2 separate regions of the Homo sapiens genome follow, and region 2 is linked to region 1. Evidence: promoter capture Hi-C in human tissues and cell types (Jung and others, 2019). All regions are on one chromosome and are shown on one strand. The core of a region is centred on a gene start or on the middle of the fragment in contact, and the rest is flanking DNA. Distances in the headings are between cores, read along the strand shown.

What was found. The method cuts DNA at HindIII sites, captures the fragments that hold promoters and counts their contacts. A contact is called where the count stands out against the background at its distance.
Region 2: a contact is called between the fragment with the promoter of OR11H6 here and the fragment with the promoter of OR11G2 in region 1, in 6 of the 25 tissues and cell types used here (adrenal gland, neural progenitor cells, psoas muscle and 3 more).

What each region holds. Positions count from the first base shown.
Region 1 is chr14:20,187,978-20,192,358 of GRCh38, reverse strand. It overlaps OR11G2 (olfactory receptor family 11 subfamily G member 2), which reads right to left and starts at 1,463. Exons shown (of 2, transcript NM_001386033.1): 1 at 693-1,463. The HindIII fragment of the contact is 15,749 bases long and covers 1-4,381 here.
Region 2 is chr14:20,221,441-20,225,786 of GRCh38, reverse strand. It overlaps OR11H6 (olfactory receptor family 11 subfamily H member 6), which reads right to left and starts at 2,077. Exons shown (of 1, transcript NM_001004480.1): 1 at 1,085-2,077. The coding sequence starts at 2,077. The coding sequence ends at 1,085. The HindIII fragment of the contact is 13,960 bases long and covers 925-4,346 here.

The sequences.
Region 1 (4,381 bases), core at 214-2,713:
TCATTTTCTTTATATGAAATGGGAGTTGGATTATATGATTTTTGATTCCTTTTCATTATGAAATACTATTATTCCAAGTATCCCACATGTATACATGATATGAAGACTTTATGGATCTAGAGGTGATGTTTGTTGCATTTGTCTCTCAGATGAAAATGCCATTTGGGGGCTGGGCTTGGTGGTTCACACCTGTAATCCCAGCTATTTGGGAGGCCGAGGCAGGAGATCACCTGAGGTCGGGAGTTTGAGACCAACCTGGCCAACATGTTGAAACCTCGTTTTTACTAATACTACAAAAATTAGCCGGGTATGGTCATATGTGCCAGTAATCTCAGCTACTTGGGAGGCTGAAGCAGGAGAATCAACTGAACCCGGGAGGCAGAGGTTGTGGTGAGCCGTGATCGTGCCACTGCACTCCAGCTTGGGTGACAGAGTGAAACTCTGTCTCAAAAAAAAAAAAAAAAAAATGCCAGTTGGGTAGTTTGACATTTATACACGAAGGCAAAATTTCCAGGCAAGTTCCCCCTCAGGGCAATTTTTCGACTTTGAGAGTCTAACAAAGCTGCCCTAGAAAACAAGAAGGGTGTGAAAATGATTCTCTGTGTGCTGTCACCATTTGACGCTTGACTTAAGTAGATCAAGAGCGTGTGACAGAAAAAAGATATTTCTAACAAGAGTGTAATGTTACTCACCTTTTATTACCTAGCTCCTCTGTACAGAGAGCAGCAGCAGTGTTTACCTGGCACAGGGCTAAACTGGAGCTGTCCAAAGTGGCAGGCAGATTCCCCCGAGTTGGTTACAGAAGCAAGTGTGAATACAGGTTCAGTGGTGTTAAAGCTGTGGATGCTGTACAGGATGCTTGGATTGGGTCAATTAACTTTCCAAACAAGAAAACAACAGCTTCACCCTCATTATATCTCAGAAATGTTGGATTAGACCCACATTAAGTTAGCCAGCTCCTGTGCTATAATACATAATATGAGACAAAAGCATTTCTCTGATGTTTTACTTTTTCCCCAAGGCTAGCTCAAAAAGGCAGTGTGGATCGGAAGCATTATTGTTCTGATCTCAGCAGCACACATCCATCTGCTTCACTTGATTTTGACTACATATCATTACACCTATTTACTTTCTGCAAAGTCCTTGAAAATAAGAACAGCTTTTCCCTTTATGAGAAGGGGTAGGCAACTCAGGCATAGTAGAAAAACAGTGGATTTGAGTAAGGAGCCTAGGACTTGAATTACAACCTAGGCTTTACCAATCCTGGAAACTTTGTCCATTGCATCATCTCCTTTCATGGACAAAAGGGGATCACAAACCTGAAGTTTCTCTGAGACTGTCTGATTGTCCTGGAGAGGAGAGGTAGCCTTTTCTATGTTAGCCATCAAAGAATGAAGGAGCAGAAATAGGGAGAAGGTCTCTTGGTGTTTGCTGGAGGATGGAGGCATTATGAACAGAGCCCTCAGGGAGTGAGCTCTGGTCCTGTGCTCAGTGAGGATCAATTTACCAGCTAGAGGAACAGTGTCAGGAGACTGTTCTGTGCTGGTTCTTTCCTTCCTCTGGGGCCTCCGTTCTCTGGAGATCCTTGGTGCCTCCTGCCTTTGTTTTCCAGTAGAGAAGAAAATATCTTTTCCAGCCTCCAAATTGTCAGGGATGGTATGAGATATAATCAGTCTTCAAGCTCACTCAGAGCACCTACCAGGTATCCAAGGGAAAGTCTACCAAAGTAACACAGGGTGTTATGGCTGTGATGCAGAAAGCTGTTCACTGGGCCTCTAGTGAGTGGTGTCAGTTATGGGTTTTGGGGACAGAGTTACCTCTGATTTTTTTGAGAAAAAAGAGATGGCTGGATTTGTGATGAGATCTCAGGCATAGAGGGCAGTGTAATGACAGCAGGAATCCATCTCCTCTCAGGACCACCATGATTTTCTTATAGACCTTTTCCTTTCTTGCTTGGGGTTGAGGTCTGTGACTCCCAAGCAGTTGCTTCTCAGGGCACACTTGCCAGGCCCAGGAGAGGCCAGAGCAGGGCACTAGCTCTTCCCCAGCAGTTGCATCTGAAGTTGGGCTCTAAGCCTTTCTCATCCCTGATGCAGGTGCAGGTCTTTCAGCACAACTCATTTGCTGTCCTTCTATCTCCAAATATGGAAGAAGTTTTATCTCAAAGACTTAGTTAATTTTACTTCCTCCTTTCAGCAGCTTTGATTTTTTTTCTCTGTTGACAGCATTAGATCTAAAATTGGCAAATAAAACCCCCTATGATTCAGCTCTAACATATTATTATGTTTTAAAATTTTAACTTTTATTTTAGATTCAGGAAGTACACGTGCAGGTTTGTTACATGGTTATATTGTGTGATGCTGAGGTTTGGGATGTAATTGATCCTGTCACCCAGGTAGTAGGTACCTAGTAGTACCTACTAAGCATAGTACTTAGTAGGTAGCTTTTTAGCCCTTCATCCCTTCCCTCCTCATCTGGTAGTTTCCAGTGTCTATTGTTGCCATCTTTATGTCCATGTGCACCCTCTGTTTAGCTCTCACTTGTAGGTGAGAACATGTGATATTTGGTTTTCTGTTCCTGTGTTAATCTGCTTAGGATAATGATTTTCAGCTGCACCCATGTTGCTGAACAGGACATGATTTCATTGTTTTTCATGGTTGCATATTATTCCATGGTGTATATGTATCACATTTTCTTTGTACAACCCAGTGCTAATGGACGCCTAGGTTGATTCCATGTCTTTGCTATTGTGACTAGTTCTGTGATGAACATATGAGTGCATGTATGTTTTGGTAGAATGATTTATTTTCCTTTGGTTATATATCCAATAATGGGACTGTTGGGTAGAATGGTAGTTCTAAGTTTTTTGAGAAATCTCCAAACTGCTATCCACAGGGGCTGACCTAATTTACATTTCCACCAGTAGTGTATAAGCATTCCCTTTTTCTCTGTAGTCTCACCCATACATACTGTTTTTTGACTTCTTACCCACAGCCATTCTGACTGGTGTGAGAGGATATCTCATTGTGGTTTTAATTTGTATTTCTCTGATCATTAGTGATGTTGAGAGCATTTTTAAAACTATGTTTGTTGGCCACTTGTATATCTTCTTTTTTTTGGGATGGAGTCTCATTCTGTTGCTCAGGCAGGAGTACAGTGGCACGATCTCAGCTCACTGCAACCTCTGCCTCCCAGGTTCAAGCAATTCTCCTGCCCCAGCCTCCCAGGTAGCTGGGATTACAGGCGTGCAATGCCACGCCCAGATAATTTTTGTAATTTTAGTAGAGGTGGGGTTTCACCATGTTGGCCAGGCTGGTCTCGAACTCCTGACCTCAGATGATGCACCCACCTTGGCCTCCCAAATTGCTGGGATTACAGGTGTGAGCCACCATGCCCAGCCTATCTTCTTTTGAGAAGAGTTTGTTCATGTCTTCTGATCTCTTTTTAATGGTGGTGTTTGTTTTTTGCTTGTTGAATTAAGTTCCTTATAGATTTGGATATGATACCTTTGTTGGATGCATAGTTTATGAATATTTTCTCCCATTCTGTAGGTTGTCTGTTTACTCTGCTGATAGTTACTTTTGCGATGTAGAAGCTCTTTAGTTTAATTAGGTCCCACTTGTCAACTTTTGTTTTTGTTGCAGTTGCTTTTGAGGACTTAGTCATAAATTCTTTCCTAAGGTCCATGAACAGAATACTGTTTTGGAGGGGTTCTTCTAGGATTCTTATAGTTTGAGGTCTTACATTTAAATCTTTGTTCTACTCTTTGAGCTAACTTTTGTATATGGTGAAAGATAGGGTCCAGTTTCAATTTTTTGCACATGGCTAGCTTACTATTGCAGTATTGAATTGAATAGGGAGTGGTTTCCCCACTGAATAGGAAATCCTTTCCCCATTGCTTATTTTTGTTGACTTTACTGAAGATCAGATGTCTATAGGTATGCGGCTTTATTTCTCAGTTATCTATTCTGTTCAGTTGGCCTATATGTCTGTTCTCGTATCAGTATCATGATGTTTCGGTTAGTGTAGTTTTATAGTATAGTTTGAAATCCATCAGTATGATGCCACCAGCTTTGTTCTGTTTGCTTAGGATTGCCCTGGTTATTTGAGCTCTTTGGGGTCTATATAAATTTGGAATAGTTTTTTTAATGCTATGAAAAATGACATTGGTAATTTATTAGGAATAGCGTTGAATCTGTATATTGCTTTGGGCAGCATGGCCATTTTAGTGGAAGGATATTGATTCTTCCACTCCATGATCATGGAATGTTTTTTCCATTTGTTTATCTAAAACTGTCACAGAGTTAACAGAAGACTCTTTTTTTTTTCCCAGAGGTGTAGATTTTCCAGCTATATTTTAATATGTCTTCTCATCTAAGCA
Region 2 (4,346 bases), core at 828-3,327, 33 kb before region 1:
TACTATGTTTTTTTCTGGTGGCCTCTTGACACACAAATATTCTTTAAGAATATTTATTTTCTGGCCGGGTGTGGTGGCTCACGCCTGTAATCCCAGCACTTTAGGAGGTCAAGGGTAGGGGGGTGGATCACTTGAGGTCAGGAGTTCGAGACCAGCTTGGCCAACATGGTGAAACCCCATCTCTACTAAAAATACAAAAATGACCCCATCTCTACTAAAAATACAATTAGCCAGGTGTGGCGGTGGGCACCTGTAATCCCAGCTACTTGGGAGGCTGAGGCAGGAGGATCACTTGAAGCCGGGAGGCGGAGATTGCAGTGAGCCAAGACTGTGCCACTGCACTCCAGCCTGGGCAACAAGAGCGAAACTTCGTCTCAGAAACAAACAAACAAACAAACAAACAAAAATATGTATATTTTCTGAATTGAAAATATCTCACTTTTTTTTTTTTTTTTTTTTTTTTTTTTTTTAAGATGCAGTCTTGCTCTATCATGCAGGCTAGGGGGCAGTGGCGTGATATCAGCTCACTGCAAGCTTAGCCTCCCAGGTTCAAGCAATTCTCATTCCTCAGCCTCCTGAGTAGCTGGGATTACAGGTGTGTGCCATCACGCCCAGCTAATTTTTGTATTTTTAGTAGAGACAGGGTTTCATCATATTGCCCAGGCTGGTCTCGAATTCCTGATCTCAGGTGATCCTCCCGCTTTGGCCTCCCAAAGTGCTGGGATTACAGTCGTGAGCCACCGTGCCCAGCCAGATCTCACTCTTTTGAAAGGTTTCAGTACACATGCAATTGATTTCTTCTGTCAGCTAAGATTAAAACTAGCAAAGATACATCACAGAAAAATAATATACGTATATATACACCCACCCACCACATAACTACTCAGTGAGGCCACATATGTTTAAAATGTTTTATTGAGCATTGGCATTTATCATTAATGAGCTGAATTTAACTGCTAAGGAACTGTGAAAGATAAGTCTGTCTACCTGAGTGTGAGCCAGAACATACTACTGAAGCTACTCTCTATAGTTATAAAAAATTAAGGTCAGAAGTGGCCAATTTGGCTTCTTTTTCAAAGATATCTCAGTTTTGGCTAACTGTTAACCCCAGGACTCTCTTTAGAGCATCTTTCATGTCTTTGTTTCGAAGACTATAGATAAGGGGATTTAAGAATGGAGTCATTGCTGTGTATACCAGAGTGATGATCTTCTGCATTCCTGCTGGGTTCCCTGATGTTGGGCTCACATACATCACCATAAGGGTTCCATAGAATAGAGACACCACCATTAGGTGGGACCCACATGTGGAGAAAGCTTTAGTTCGACCAGCACCAGAGGGAATACAAAGCACAGCTCTGATGACCAGAGTGTAAGATCCCAAGATGGAGAGGAAGGGCCCAAAGATAATCATCGAGTTGAAGGTGTAACAGATAAGCTCAGTGGAAGGAGCAGAGATGCAGGCCAGTGCAAACAATGGGCCTGGGTCACACACCAAGTGGTCAATGATGTTGGGCCCACAGAAGGGAAGTTGGGAGATAAGAACAATAGGGACTGGATAGCAGAGAAATCCGCCTACCCAGCATACACAGACCAGAATTATACAGAACTTCCCAGTCATGATGGAGGGGTAGTGTAATGGACGACAGATGGCCAGGTACCGATCATAAGCCATAACTGATAAAAAGAAACACTCTGTTGTACCCAGTGAAAAAAAGAAATAGAATTGCAGGAAGCAACCAGAGAAGGAGATGGTTTTAATCTCAGAGAGGATATTGACTAGCATGTTTGGGACAGTGGAGGAAATGTACCAGATCTCTAGAAAGGCAAAGTTTCCCAGAAGGATGTACATGGGTGTGTGGAGCCGCCTGTCCAATTTCACTGCACAGACAATAGCTCCATTCCCTAGCAGTGTCAGGAGATAGAGAACCAGGATGAATGAGAAGAAGCAGCTCTGCATCTCCCTTTGACCATGGAAACCCAGGAGGACAAACTCAGTCACAAAATGCATTGTTCTGTTCTGGGGTCCCAAAGCTGTTAGAAAAACAGAAGTAACCAAAGAATGAATAATAAAGAACATTTGGAGATTTTGCTAACTCATGCTGGATGATGTACTAAGTATTTTTACATACATTATCTCATTTGGTCTTCCTAATGACTCTTTGAGCTGCGAGGAGGTATTCTTTACCCTTCTCTTTCACAGACAGGGTAATTGAAGTTCAAAGAGATTAGAAGGGTTCACTTAAACATATGTACAAAGCCAGTAACGCCCAGATACACTGGCCTATTTGGAGATTGGTTTGGAACAAATCATGTTTCACTTCAAATTTTCTATAACCCTGAGTCTCAGTAATGTTTCATCTTTAATGGTAAAATCACTGCCCCTTAGATACTCTACATATAAATATAAACTTTGGATATATTCTTTTACTTTAAAGCAAAATTGAGTATAAATCTGAAGCAAGAATAGTTGCTATATTAAAATTGCCTTCTTAGAGCCTCATATGTAGAAGTCCAATAAAAAGCAGATAGGAATTAAACTTTGGGGAGTCTTCAGCTCCCTTCCTTTTGCTACTCTCAGGGAGGTGCTGCAGAACCCTTAGGAATCTGTAAAATGGTCTGAAAGCTACAAATCTAGTTCCCCCCAGATCACATTCTCCCTGGTGGCATCTGGATTTGCTGAATAATCCAGCCCCTTTTTCTCGTGAGGAGCTCTAGTTCTCTCAAAGCCCTTCTTTATGGTGAGCAAACTTTGTATCCTTTATTACTTTTACCCATTGATCTTGGTACTCCCCAAGTCAGCAGGTAAACTTTGACTTTGTTGAAACTACACAAAATAAGTCTAATTCCTCTCCCATGATGGTGGTAGTGAGGTCTTAAATAACTGAAGGCAGCTGTTATGTCCCTTACCTATGACTTCTTTGGCAGGCCACCATTTTCCCTGCTTGTCAGCCTCCTTCTCCAACAAATTGTACTATTCTACATCATGACTTAGCTCTTGAGGGAGCTTGCTGTTGGGTAAATCAATTTCTCTAGTAATAAAGCCATGTGCCTTTATTTTTGCTAGAAATTAAGTCCTAAACTTTATAATTTGTCCCTTCATTATCTTGCTTTTCCATAAATTAAATAATGAATAAAAGAGTCACCTCAGGATGTGCAGAGAACAGAAAGATCTTTCTGATATTTTCTAAATCAGGAGTTGAGACAAGATAAATAACTTAGATATTTTGCTAACAATTTTCTAGAAACTATTGGTCCAGCAGGCTTATTTCTGTGTCCTCAAATATCCTTGTTAAAGTTCAGAATATTTGGCTGGGTAAGCCACTATCAATATTTTAAATTTAGCAATATAATGACTTTAAAATTAGGATAATTTATTGTATTATTAGCGTCACTGTTAAGATACTCACAAAATTCCATCTTTACATCATTTATATGATCCACAGAGAGCGAGAGGCCTGCCTTTCAGTACTTGATCAAACCTGGAGCAAACCCAAAAGCATAAATGTTTTATTGCCGAGGTAACTTTGGATATTCATGTTAACAATATTTTAAGAATAATACAACAATTTCTCTAATAAACATGATTTTTAGGAAAATGTAAATTTTGTCCAAGCAGTTCAGTTTAATGAATAATAATTATCATGATCACATGCATCAGAATTTTTAGGACAGTTGTAATTACTCTCAAATATACTCTCCATAACTGCTTGTATTTCCCACACTACATGCTATGTCATTCTTGGAAAATATAATTACTGGGCTTGCAATTTAAAAAAACGGTTGGCAGTTAGAATGGCGATCATTAAAAAGTCAGGAAACAACAGGTGCTGGAGAGGATGTGGAGAAATAGGAACACTTTTACACTGTTGGTGGGACTGTAAACTAGTTCAACCCTTGTGGAAGTCAGTGTGGCGATTCCTCAGGGATCTAGAACTAGAAATACCATTTGACCCAGCCATCCCATTACTGGGTATATACCCAAAGGACTATAAATCATGCTGCTATAAAGACACATGCACATGTATGTTTATTGCGGCACTATTCACAGTAGCAAAGACTTGGAACCAACCCAAATGTCCAACAATGATAGACTGGATTAAGAAAATGTGGCACATATACACCATGGAGTACTATGCAGCCATAAAAAATGATGAGTTCATGTCCTTTGTAGGGACATGGATGTAGCTGGAAACCATCATTCTCAGCAAACTACGGCAAGGAAAAAAACCAAACACTGCATGTTCTCACTCATAGGTGGGAATTGAACAATGAGAACACATGGACACAGGAAGGGGAACATCACACACCAGGACCTGTCGTGGGGTGGGGGGAGGGGGGAGGGATAG